Regions from separate parts of the Homo sapiens genome. Here all the other regions are linked to region 2. The links are contacts of gene promoters, found by promoter capture Hi-C in human tissues and cell types (Jung and others, 2019). All regions are on one chromosome and are shown on one strand. Each heading gives the region's core, a stretch centred on a gene start or on the middle of the fragment in contact. The rest is flanking DNA. Distances are from core to core; before and after follow the strand shown.

Region 1 (4,660 bases), core at 267-2,766, 81 kb after region 2:
TTTTGTTGGAAGTTGTGCATGATGTTCTGGTAAAAGGAATTGTGATGAATGAGACTTTGATAATAGTGTTAAGGTGTGAAGGAAAGGGATGCATACTGTGGTCCTATGATTAGGTTTCAGTCTTTTGGTGAGCCTGTGCTCATGAACTATGAACTTCTCAAGTGCTTCTCAGTGTTTCTCCCCTCTTAGGTAGGACAGGATGGCTAGAGGGCCTAGAACTGGCTATTTTCTTCTCCCACCTGGAAGCCTAGCGGGAACTTGAGTTGGGCATTTTCTTTTCCCTAGGTAGGTCAGACTCTGATAAAAACCCCAGCAGATTAGGTTCTGGTAAAATAGCTTCTCCTGAGAGCAGGCCTTGTGAAGAATAGACTGTTCTGGTGTATTTTAAGATGGCTCCTTTTTGTGAAGGACCTCTTCAAGGAGAACTACAAACCACTGCTCAACAAAATAAAAGAGGATAAAAACAAATGGAAGAACATTCCATGCTTATGGATAGGAAGAATCAATATCGTGAAAATGGCCATAGTGCCCAAGGTAATTTATAGATTCAATGCCATCACCATCAAACTACCAAAGACTTTCTTCACAGAATTAGAAAAAACTACTTTAAATTTCATATGGAACCAAAAAAGAGCCCGTATTGCCAAGTCAATCCTAAGCCAAAAGAACAAAGCTGGAGGCATCATGCTACCTGACTTCAAACTATACTACAAGGCTACAGTAACCAAAACAGCATGGTACTGGTAACAAAACAGAGATACAGAACAATGGAACAGAACAGAGCCTTCAGAAATAATACCACACATCTACAACTATCTGATCTTTGACAAACCTGACAAAAACAAGAAATGGGGAAAGGATTCCCTATTTAATAAATGGTGCTGGGAAAACTGGCTAGCCATATGTAGAAAGCTGAAACTGGATCCCTTCCTTACACCTTATACTAAAATTAATTCAAGATGGATTAAAGACTTAAACGTTAGACCTAAAACCATAAAAATCCTAGAAGGAACCTAGGCATTACCATTCAGGACATAGGCATGGGCAAGGACTTCATGTCTAAAACACCAAAAGCAATGGCAACAAAAGCCACAATTGACAAATGGGATCTAATTAAACTAAAGAGCTTCTGCACAGCAAAAGAAACTAACATCAGAGTGAACAGACAACCTACGAAACGGGAGAAAATTTTTGCAATCTACTCATCTGACAAAGGGCTAATATCCAGAATATACAAAGAACTTAAACAAATTTGAAAGAAAAAATCAAACAACCCCATCAAAAAGTGGGCAAAGGATATGAACAGACAATTCTCAAAGGAAGACATTTATGCAGCCAAAAGACACATGAAAAAATGCTCATCATCACTGGCCATCAGAGAAATGCAAATCAAAACCACAATGAGATACCATCTCACACCAGTTAGAATGGCGATCATTAAAAAGTCAGGAAACAACAGGTGCTGGAGAGGATGTGGAGAAATAGGAACACTTTTACACTGTTGGTGGGACTGTAAACTAGTTCAACCATTGTGGAAGACAGTGTGGCGATTCCTCAGGGATCTGGAACTAGAAATACCATTTGAACCAGCCATCCCATTACTGAGTATATACCCAAAGGATTACAAATCGTGTTGCTATAAAGACACATGCACACGTATGTTTATTGCAGTACTACTCACAATAGCAAAGACTTGGAACCAACCCAAAAGTCCAGCAATGATAGACTGGATTAAGAAAATGTGGCACATATATACCATGGAATACTATGCAGCCATAAAAAATGATGAGTTCATGTCCTTTGTAGGGACATGGATAAAGCTGGAAACCATCATTCTCAGCAAACTATCGCAAGAACAAAAAACTAAACACTGCATGTTCTCACTCATAGGTGTGAATTGAACAATGAGAACACTTGGACACAGGAAGGGGAACATCACACACCAGGGCCTGTTGTGGGGTGGTGGGAGGAGGGAGGGATAGCATTAGGAGATATATCTAATGTAAATGACCAGTTAATGGGTGCAGCACACCAGCATGGCACATGTATACATATATAACAAACCTGTATGTTGTGCACATGTACCCTAGAACTTAAAGTATAATAAATAAATAAATATATATATATATATATATATATATATATATATATATATATATATAAAACAACAACAAAAAAACCCAAAAAACAATAAAATGGCTCCTTTTCTCCTCTCCCTGACAGAAGCAGGGAGGGGATTTTTTTTTCCCTGACATTCATTGTGAGGACCTGGTAGGTCTCCTGGAGGGAAAACTCACTAAAGCATGAAGGCTGTCCTATGATTACGTCTACCTGAGATTTTTAACTCTCATACTTGTCCATATCAAGCCTCCAGCAAGTGGTCAATTATAGTTTAGTTTTCCTACTTCTTCAGTAGTTCATGTGGAGGTTCCTACCGTGGGTTTCTGCTCCAGTGAAGTGTGATTCTCTGTATCTGCCTGTCTGTCTCTCTAATTTTGGGAGTAGCAGTGTTTGAATTGAGTGACCTGAAATCCCTGATAGATGTAAGAAGAGTTGTTGATTTCTCAGTTTGTTTAGCTTTTCACTTGTTAGGGTAGAGTGGTGACTTCTAAGCTCTTTATATGCCTGACTGGAAACCAGGAATTTGTGGTTTGTGATTTTTCCTAAATAGTAAATTATTTTTCCCCATCTAGAGAAAATTTATTTTCTTTCTAGTTTGAAGAAAATAAGGCCATTATTCATAATGTAATGGGACCATTAGCATAATATTTCAAACTTCATTGATTCTTTTTCAACTACCAAAATCATGCTGTTTGTTGATTTGATTCAAGAAAAGGCCAGAACATGTGTCCATAGGATTGTATATCACTCTTGCTAATAAAAAATAGAGACCAAGGTTAGATTGTTTCCTGATGAGCATAAGCAAAGCAATGTACCTAGTTTTACCTGTACGTGATAGACATCTGTATAGGCTGATGAATTCTTTTTATATTTAAAGCACCCTTGAGACAATCTTTGGTCAATCAAAGTCACTTTCCAGGCCCTGGGAAAATGTCAGGAAAATAATAACATGTATTTCTGGGTACTTACCAGGTCCTTGTAACAAAATTTGCCTTTGGTAGATGACTTAGTAGGTTTTCAATAAGTAATTATGGATTTAAAAGAATAGAAAAGTTCAGAAAATAGTTTAGCACGAACATTAGAATCATCCATGAAGCTTTTAAAACTACAGATACTGGGCTCTACCCATTAAGTTTTCTGATTATGTAGACCTGAAGTAATACTTAGATTTATGGATTTTAAGAAATTTGAGCAAATAATACTGAAGCATATGAACTGGGCCAACTTGATAGGGTAAAATATACACGTCACCTATTTGGCAGCTCCTCATGAACTATTTCCTGTCTTACTCAGTATTGATGTAGACTAGATGAAGATGGAACCACAAATGAGATATCTCATTGATATTGTGACACCACAGCATAAGTAGGGGCTATGAAGTCATTTTTACATTGATTTGAATTCTGGGTTGCCTATATAATTGAGCCAGCTTCCTCCTTCATAAAGAGGAGATACAACTACCCATGGAGTTCACATAATGATTAAATAATCATGTAATAAAACTGACCCAATAGCTGGTGAAGAGTTGGTGTTGAGTAAATAGCTCTCTCAAATTACTCCCCATCTGTGCCTATGCGACACTTGCAATACAACATGTGATCGAATATGCTGAGAATGGTGGAGCCCACCACACAGATATGCCAATTCTACTGATCAAATCAATAGCAACAGACTTGCTGAGGTTTCCAAAGAGAAACTGGTTAGATTTTTTTAATTAAAATGGCTGGTTACCCGATTATTATTGATAGATTATTACTAAGAAAAAAGGTGCTTTGTTTTTAGAATTTTTGTTTGGCAGCATTTATTATTTTACTGCACACACAAAGAATGCATGTGTGTGCAGGTGTGTGTATAAAGGTGGAATGATCTTATGCAGAGAAATGTCTTCTGACTTTTCTTTTTAATCTAAGTAGTGTATGTCCTGATACACCCTGTATTTTCTTTCATCCATGTTCTTTTATTTTCCGAACTTTATTCTATCTTGAACCAGGTTGTGATGCTTTGCTAAATTTTTCCTGTGAGAAAATGATTTTGAGGTTGTCAATCCATCAGCCATGATGACTGGGAAATATTTGAAAGAAGATACAAAGTGTACTTATCCGGAAGCTGAAAATATAAAGCAGTGTTTTCTACTTGTCACTGTAAGAATGCATGACAAATTCATTGTTATCCCAACTTCACAGTTGTCAGCTATTCTACATACAGTGGTCACACAGACACTGTGGTTGTCACTAACAGCAGAATCTATGTATTGTTACAAAACTGCCAAATATCACGGCACTACCAAAAAGGGAAATGACAATTACACCTAGTAAGACAAAATATATCAAAAGGTTCATGATGTATTCACCATGTAGTTGGACAACTTTGGCAATGAGGTTAATATGCTCTTTTGATATGCATTGGGGTATGGAGGGGTATGTTTCTTTCCATTTTCATTCTATCTTCTAGCCAGCTTTCCTATATATGTTTACAGCTGGCTGTAGAAAAGATAATATGAAAGAGCATTTATCAGTTATCAAAATGGAGAACAGGAAAA
Region 2 (4,478 bases), core at 1,392-3,891:
GCGAATCACAGCAGGTTCTGAAGTGCTGGAGAACCCACGTGTGCAGGGGCTGGAGAACTTTTCCACCGTCTCCCAGAGGAAATGCCTCATTTTAAAATAGGGGGCTGGCTGGAGCAAGGGGTGGGGGTGAAGGGTGGGCGGTAAAAAAAGGCAGAGGCGAAGCTTTCAAACCGTTCACGCATGTCTACCTGTGCTTATTTTCCCTCTATTTCGCCTCCGATCAACTTTATTATTATTATTATTATTATTTTCCTTCTATAGGAGGACTTAAGCAACCAGGATGCTGAACATCTCATAGGCTCAGGCTGGAACAAAGAAAATCGAGTTCCTAATACTGTATCTCACCCGTTGGAGGGATCACGTGTCCTGCTTTCGCTGGAATGCACTCTTCTCGCCCACGCTATAAAAATCTCTATTGTGCTTAGAAATTTCGCCTAGGTTAGAATATGCTCACAAAAAATTGCTTTTCATCCACCAGGAGAGCCACATTTCGACATATACAGATACAAATCTATTTACCTGCTGACCCAGTTACCACTGCAGGTAAATTCGATGTGTTGAAAGAGTATTGGGAAAGTAATTGAAAAGAGCAGGGGGAGGACCCCTGTGTCTTACCGATCCCCACCCCCATCGCTTTTTTTTTTTTTTTTTTTTTTGTAATTCCTTTTGAAGGAGAACTTCGAAAGGAACGTGGGAGTCGCAGATGGTTCCTTTCTGAAGCCGATTCCTGGGAGTTGTGAAAGTGACCCCGTCTCTTCTCTGCCTCGAGCTGTGCCCTCTCGCCCAACCCGCTCGCTTTATGACTTGATGGGGAAGAGACAGCCAGAGAAGAGCCGGAGTAGAGGGCGGAGGCGGGTCCTTTATTCAGCCCTGATGGCCGAGAAGTAGTGTAAGGAAGCAATCTTTCAGCCATCTCCGTTATTATGAAGTCACACTATTTTAAAAGGCAATCTATACAGTCCCCCAACCCCCGCCCCCATTCTTGACTCTGCAAACAGTAAGATTAGAGACCACTGGTAGCCAATCTAATAGTCCACGAGCCAGGGTGCCATGATTACCTTAATGCTAATGTGCTTCCCTCCCTCTTTCCACGTCGAATCCGAAACACGTCCTGCATCCTTAATAACTCGGAGAGGAGGACGCAAGATCCTCAAGGGGACCCAGCGCTGGATTGGGAATAGGCAGGTTCACCAGCTTCTCGTGCCACACAAAGGAGATGTGTGGGCAGGAGTTGTCTAGCTGACAGGGAGGGAGGCAAGGTTCTCCCTGACTCCCAGGGAACACGCTCCCCCACTTCTTTCCGTCCTCCAGTCTTTCATGTTCCTTCGTCCCCTCCATCCCCCCAAACCCCACCCTTTCCCTTCAATCCCAATCACATAAAAATCTTCTAATTGTATTTTTTCAAACAGACATCGAGACATTGATACAACACCTTCCAAGATAAAGAGACAAGTGCGTCCTGCCACAAGTGTGTGTGAGTGTGTGTGTGTGTGTGTCACGATCAAACACGCGCTTCATCCCTCAGACACCTCTGGGAAAAAAGCTGACTGGAGATACCCAAGATAATAACGAGGAGCTAAACCTAATTTCAGCGGAACCAATGGTCCCAGCACCAGCGCCCAACATTTACCTTTCCTTTTCGCAGTATGTAACCCTTTAAGGTCTCTTGCCAGCTCAAGCTACTCGGTGCTCCCATGCACCCGCCCAGTTAGCACCCCATTTCCAAATGCTCTGCAACCTACCACATCTTCGCCGCCTCCCTCGGCCACCGCACAAGCAGCTCCCCGCGAGCGCCGAAGCCTCCCGCCCTGCCACCCCCGCCCCCGGCCGGCCTCTGGGGTCCCACACCTCGCGCGCCTACGGTCGCCGCGGCCGGGCCCCCGCAGCACCCTCCGCCACGGAGCGAGCGTGCCTTACTCACATCGCCGGCGGGAGAAACTGCCCATGAGGTTTCGGAGAGCGTAGTCGTGCAGCTGCCAAGGGTTATTCCTTAAGTGTTCAGGGGTCCGCAGTGGAGTGGGCGCCAGGGTCTTCGGAGGAGAAGAGGAGGGAAGGAGTAGAAGGTAGGAAGAACAGGAGATAGAGGGGAATCCAGGAAGGTGCCACGTTAGACCATGATGCCAGTGCCCTTCAGGTGGACGGCTGGAGAGGTTCCCGCGGGAAGCGGCTGAGGGGAAGCCCGAAGCGCCGGCGGGGGAGGCAGGAGCGCGTCCACTCCCCAGCCTCAGCCTGCCCAGCGCGCCGCGCTAGCGACCGCAGCAGCAGCGGCGGCGGCGGCGGCGGTGGCGGAGGCGCAGCTCCCTCCCCGCCCCCAGAAGGCTCCACAGACAATAAATCCTGGGCGGAGAAGAGACAAGCAGGAAAGGCGAATCCTGCACCCAACTCCGTAACAACCCCTGCCCGTTGCCGCGCCTGTGCAGGGCGAGGATCCCCAGGGGCCAGGGCGCAGCGGGCGTCTCGGAGGGGCTGAGCGCTCCGCAACTGCAGGAGGCGGTGGCGGTGGCCCGAGTGGGCGGCTGCAGGTCCCGCCGGCGAGAACCCGCTGCACTGGGGCTGGGTGTCCGTGGCTTCAAGCCCGGTGTTCACCCGGAGTAGGGTCCTCCTCGGTGCAGTGGCTCGGCGCACAGGTGCCAGGATTGGCAGGCGAGGAGGCGCCGCTCATGGCTCTTGGCTGTGTCTCACCGCTCTCCCCGCCCCCTCTCTTTTTTCCCACCCCCTTTTCCGACGACACCAGCTGCAGCTGCTTCAAAGTGTGAAAAATGTCAAGGAGATTTTCCAATGATAGGAGGGGGTAACCATGTTCACAACCCTCGGTCTCTTTTTGAGATCCTCGCCTGTCCCTCTGACCTCTACTCCGGCTCCCCCAAATTATGAGAAGAAAAATCCCAGTCCTGCACAGGATTGAAACGCTAGCCTTCTCCCGGCTCCGTCACGATAGGCTGCTTTTCGAGAACGGGACGAGAGGCCGAGCTCTCTGGGTTCCTCTCGCCTCCGTGGTGTTCGAGGCAGGTGGCACGAATCTCAGCGCGGGGCGGAGCGCGGCTGCCGGCTCCTCCCGCTCGCGGGCCAGCCCCGGGCGCTCGGGCAGCGCGGCGCGGCTTTCTGCAGCGCGGCCGCCTGAGCGGCAGAAGCGGCTCCCGGCCTGTGCGCCTGCCTGAGCGCCCCTGCACCCGCACTAGCTCAGTGACGCTGAGCTCGTGGCTCCTCAGGCTGCTGCTCCTGCTATCTCAGCAAAGAGGCGGCCGGGAGCGCCTCCTCGGGGTTTCCTCCCCCGCCCGCCTTGCCTGCTGCAGGTTGTTGGCTGCCAAGGAGAAAAGTCTCCGCTTGTGCGTCAGGTCGCTTCACATCAGTCATGGCAGCGAACCTTGTGCCTGCTCTTAAGTCCTCTCCTCATTCTGGGGTTGCGGCTGCTGCCCTGGGAGTGCACAAAAAGGGAAGGGTTTTCCCAACTTCCCTTCATATATTCACCGCCCCTCCTCCTGCCATGAACATTCTCTCTGACACACACACACACACACACACACACACACACACACACACACACTCTCTCTCTCTCTCTCATATGCTCCCTTACGTAAAGGCACACACACTTTCTTCTTATACGCTTCTCTAAAGTCCCAGAAGCAGCAAGACATATCAATGAAGCTAGTACTATATTTACACTTTTTTTTTTTTTTTTTGAAACGGAGTTTCGCTCTTGTTGACCAGGCTGGAGTACAATGGCGCGATCTCGGCTCACTGCAACCTCTTCCTCCCCGGTTCAAGCGATCTTCCTGCCTCAGCCTCCCGAGTAGCTGGGATTACAGGCGCGTGCCACCACGCCCGGATGATTTTTTTTGTATTTTTAGTAGAGACGGGGGTTTCACCATGTTGCCCAGGCTGGTCTCGAATTCCTGACCTCAGGTGATCCACCTGTCTCGGCCTCCCAAAATGCTGGGATTATAGACGTGAGCCACCGTTCCCAGCCTATATTTACACTTTTATTCTCTACACACATCTAATGAATTACATCTTTAAAAAAGGATATATTATGCTGGTATTCTTTTGTGGAATATAGGCTATGTGGTTTTTGTTTCTTCATTACAAGAGAGAAAGAATCTTGTCTTTAGTTCTCTAACCTCGAACACAGTCAAGACTGTGCACAGCATTCAAATGCCACTCTGGGGGTGTGTGTAAGCTCACAGTTTGCCAAAAGAAAACACACCTGATTGTATTCTTAGATTTGGAATGCTAAAGTCTTCAAGGTCAAAAATTATGTTTCCTGGCTGCTAGAAATTGTCTAGGAAGAGACTTGAGAGACTGGCACCTAATGTGCGGAGGACCTAGAGAGGAATTATTGCCCACTTTATCTGGGCCATGAAGGTGGGCTGACTTTTAAGGACAACTTGCCAGTGTTTCATATCATTTGCATATAGAAAGGAAAAGGAGTATATTTTGAAAAGCCAGATCGTTTTTTATATTGTTACAAAACACCAAAA
Region 3 (4,641 bases), core at 757-3,256, 83 kb before region 2:
GAGTGAGTTTATTTCTCAGCTCTCTTTGTTCCATTGGTCTATATGTCTTTATGGCAGTAATATAATGTTTTAATACTGTAGTTTTGAAATCAAGCGATGTGAAGCCTCTATTTTGGTTATTATTATTTTTTTTTTGAAGACTGTTATGGCTATTCAGAGTCCTTTGAGGTTCCATGGGAGATAGGGGAGTTTTTCCAAATTATAGAATTGAAAAAACAATTACACAATTCACTTTAAAAATGCCATTGGGATTTTGGTAGAGATTGCATTGAATTTGTAGATTGCTTTGGGTAGCATGGGCATTTTAACAATATTAAGTCTTCAAATCCATGCACACAAGAGCCTCTTCATTTATTTAGGTCCTCTTCAATTCATTTTATCAATATTTAATAATTTTCAGTTTACAGGTCTTTTGCTTCCCTAATTATTTTTGTTGGTGTTACTTTAGATAAGATTAGTTTCTTAATTTCCTTTTTGAATTATTCATTGTTAATGTACAGAATGTAATTTATTTTTTGTGTGTTGATTTTGTATCCTGCAACTTTGCTGAACTGATATATTAGTTCTAACAGTTTGTGAATAGGGTTTTCTACGTATAACATCATGTCATCTGTGAACAGAGAAAATTGTACCTCTTTCTTATTTGTATGCCCTTTATTTCTTTTTCTTGCCTAATTGTTCTGAACAGTTCCTTGAGATGTAAGGAGAGTTGAACTCCAAATCCAAAGTATTCTGGCTTCTAATCAGGGCCCTAAGTAAGGCAAGACTATTACCAGTTGCTTGGGTAGCCATTCCAGGAGCTGAAATGCAGGATACACTCTCCACTCCTCTCCTTTCCTCCTGAAGGAGAAGCTTCAAGTTGTGTACCTTTTCTATTCACACCAAGTCATGCTGACTGGACCAAGCCATGCCCTCCTCTTCTTGTTCTCAGTGGGCCTCCAGGAATGCAAACTCTGCCAGTTCTGTCAGTGCTCTGAATGAGGTACTGACAGAAACCAGTCCCCCAGACAGCCCTCCAAAGAGCTAGAACTTTACATGCATGTTCCACTCTTCTCTTTTCCCTTGACCGAGAAGCAGGGAGCCAGGACATTCTCTCTTGGTGTTGGGAATGGGCTGATGCAGGTAAAGTAAAATTGCTCTTCTTACCTGTTTTAATGCAAGTGTTCCCAGCTTTGTGCTCACCTGGGATACTGCAACTTTTTAATTGGATTCTGGAATTCTCATAAAGGTATTTTGCTCCATGTATTATTGCTTAATCAATATTTCTGTGGAGGGGCTAGGACTTCTTATTATGTCATTTTACTGATGTCAGTACTCCCACAGTGCTTTTAACTTTTAAATAAATTATGTTAATTTTATCTGCCAGTGCTTTTAAAAATAACTTTGGTAGATACAGCAAGACAAAATGAAAACTCTTTGAATTGGCAGATATAATTGGATTTGCAAAGGTCCATTATGTCCCAAAGGATGCGTAATTTTGCTCTCAACTATAGAGAAAGTTATAGTTGCTCTTGCTTCAAATGTAGTGCACTTTTTTTTTCTAATCAGTACCATAGGATGATTTGTAAACCAGGTTAAACTTGCCTCAGAAAACAATGTTTTTAAAAATATATATCTTTAAATAAATATGCAGATTTGAAATTACTTATACAGTATATGAATAAAATATGGAAAAGTTAACATATTTATGCTTCTAAGTTCATGCCAAAACTAAGCTGTATTCATATGGTACCTCCAGCATGTCACCTAATTAGAAAGAGTTGACATTCGTCACTTATTTTCATTAATCTAGACATGCCAAACTGTCTCAGGGAATAATTTAGCTCGATGCTTCAGTCCATAATTTTGAAATTGACATCTATACTTGTCACTACTGCTGTAACTTTCATGTGAGGATAGCATTTATATCAGTGGCAGCTATAATCAAATGAAAAATGTGCTAAAATATACCCAGTAAATTAGGTAAGCTATCGACAGTGCCAAACCAATGATGCTTGCAATATGCTCCCAAATTCTGCCAAGGAGTATCTGAAAATTTTGAAGCACTCAGAGTATATTTTAAAAGAAATGATTAAGATTTTCTGATTATAAGAAATTGCACAACATATTTTGTTTAGGAAGCTATGGCTAAAAACACTAATTTTATACAAAGCTTAAAGACGTGTGTATCAAACACAGACAAAGACTTCACAGATAGCCTATAATGCATGCTTAATGAATATTTGCTACATGTATGAAGCAATGTATTCTTGTGTAACAAATGCCAAAGATGCTTGGCATTTTTTTTTTTTTTTGAGACGGAGTCTCTCTTTTTCGCCCAGGCTGGAGTGCAGTGGCGCGATCTCGGCTCACTGCAAGCTCTGCCTCCCAGGTTCACGCCATTCTCCAGCCTCAGTCTCCTGAGTAGCTGGGACTGCAGGCACCCACCACCACGCCCGGCTAATTTTTTTCATTTTTAGTAGAGACGGGTTTTCACCATGTTAGCCACGATGGTCTCGATCTCCTGACTTCGTGATCCACCCGTCCTGGCATCCCAAAGTGCTGGGATTACAGGCGTGAGCCACCGCGCCTGGCTGATGCTTGGCTTTTTATGAAAATGTTTTTCAATAATATTCCAAAGAATATTAAAAAACAAATTTGCTCTTCTTTTATAAGGAATAAAATTAATATGTGCCAGGGAAATAATTTTCCTTGAAGAAAAAACCAGAAAATTAATAATGGAGTAAGATTATTACTGTTGTGCTATGTCCTTGAGTTTCATTAGAAGAAAGAGTCACACTGACTTGAAATTAATATTTGTTTTGGAAAACATTGATGGATTCTCTAACTGTATCTTACCATCTCTTATCGCATGCTTGCCTGTCATCATCCATAAAGTATTCATATCTGTTAAATCTCCTTGAGGAGTGAGCCTAATCCTTATGCGACTGTCATTGAAGGCCAAGAATTATCCTGTGAGGGTGTTTTTGGTTTTTTTTTTTCAATCACTTTGATTCTTTAAGCCATCTTTACCACCCTTAAGCCGTTTTGTAATGTCTAAAGCTGCTTGCACAAAAAGCTGGAGGCAGTTTGTGAACTGCGTAAAAGAACCAGGCTTAGGAGCCTGTCTACCAAACCATATACTTTTGCATGGAATTGCATGTGCATGGAGGAAGGGGAGTCATTTTTCAATTAGCAAAGGTGCCATATGGGCTAGTGGTCTCTTTGTTGACATCTTTCCTAGAGGGTTACCAGAACTTCCCAAATTACTTCTAATCTCTATTATCACTTCCTTCCAATTTCATTATCTAAAGCAATCCCAGAATATTTTTGAATGCTCTAGATATTTAATTACCTTTTATATGTCATACACAAATCTTCAAAATCTGAAGCCTAGTAACATTTCCAGATTTCACTTCCTTTCTTCCGTAGTACTGTAGGTCTGCTTAAAATCTTGGTTAGGCAAAGCACATATATCATCCTCACTTCCCATAGCTTTCTCTCCCTTCAAAATTGAGGGAAAAAAATAAGAATAAAACAAGAACTAACAATTTGAGAATACTCACTGTAACTAGGCACTATTGTAGGTACTTTATGAAGTAAATAAGTTACTATTATAATTTCCACTTTATGTATGAATAAACTGAGGCAACAAAAAGTAAAGTAACTTGTACGTCATGTAACTGGTGAGTGGTGAAGCCAGGTACTGAAGTGTATAGTGAGTGAGACAGAATCTAACAATATCTGTATGTTCACATTCCAATAGCAATAACATTTTAGAGAATGGGAAATCTTGAAAAACTGCATCGTAATGTTTAATAAATCTTTAAAAAATCTTTAATTCTGTGTCAGCACATGATTACTTTCTCAAAAGAATATTTTCTCAACATTTTCTGGTAGCTTTCTAGAATCCATAAAAATACAATCCCATTTGCCTTTTCTCATAGTGATACCTTTAAATATACTATTTGTGCTGTCTACAACATATCTCATCACCTGTTTTTACCTAGTGTCTCACAGTGTTACTAAAAGTCAAAAACCACTTCAAATATTTGTCACAGAGAGAACTGAGTGCAAGGAAATTGGTTACACAGGAGGTGGAGGAGCTGAGAAGCCCAAGAGAGGGCAGAGAGTAGCAAGAGCTGGAAGCCAGTATGTATGTAAACAGGAAGAGGCATGTTTCTGAAGCCCAGGGCCTTGATTCATATAGCAGAGGTTGAAACCTTAGTAGGCTTACTGGGCAGGAGCCAAAAACATGATGGAGGATATGTAGCTGCTGCTAGTGAAGGCCCCTGTGGTGGGAGAGAAATACTCTGGCTTTTCCCATTTCTCTTTCTTCTCCAACCAGTGTCTCCCACTGGTTAATTGCAGCCAGAAACCAGCTATAGGTCTTCTCCCTGGACATGGAGCAAGGCAGAAGAAGGACAATAATTGGTTTTCAGGATTAATAGGCTCCACCCTTGCTCATCTAGTGAGTATGTCGTTCTTAGGCCTTCCTCAGGAGATCTCCCTGTTCCTCTTATAGACTCCCACAGAACCATACAATTCCCTTTTCATAACACCTCGAGTATTATTTTCATACAAATTAATAATAGTTAATTTATGAACAATTACCAAGAGACAGACACTAAATGTTACACACACTCATTTAAACCTCCAAAC

Evidence for each region. The method cuts DNA at HindIII sites, captures the fragments that hold promoters and counts their contacts. A contact is called where the count stands out against the background at its distance.
Region 1: a contact is called between a fragment that was not itself captured here and the fragment with the promoter of LRRC7 in region 2, in 2 of the 25 tissues and cell types used here (adrenal gland and aorta).
Region 3: a contact is called between a fragment that was not itself captured here and the fragment with the promoter of LRRC7 in region 2, in 2 of the 25 tissues and cell types used here (dorsolateral prefrontal cortex and hippocampus).

Annotation. Positions count from the first base shown.
Region 1 is chr1:69,483,753-69,488,412 of GRCh38, reverse strand. The region is part of intron 1 of LOC105378789 (a long non-coding RNA gene); the gene reads right to left. Among named protein-coding and RNA genes, the nearest start is that of LINC01758, 53 kb to the right of the region's middle. The HindIII fragment of the contact is 9,481 bases long and covers 1-4,660 here.
Region 2 is chr1:69,566,085-69,570,562 of GRCh38, reverse strand. It overlaps LRRC7 (leucine rich repeat containing 7), which reads right to left and starts at 2,641. Exons shown (of 27, transcript NM_001370785.2): 1 at 1,922-2,641. The coding sequence starts at 1,923. RefSeq lists a silencer at 2,988-3,217. The HindIII fragment of the contact is 6,759 bases long and covers 1-4,478 here.
Region 3 is chr1:69,648,193-69,652,833 of GRCh38, reverse strand. All of the region lies in intron 1 of LRRC7 (leucine rich repeat containing 7), which reads right to left. Among named protein-coding and RNA genes, the nearest start is that of LRRC7, 83 kb to the right of the region's middle. The HindIII fragment of the contact is 3,341 bases long and covers 336-3,676 here.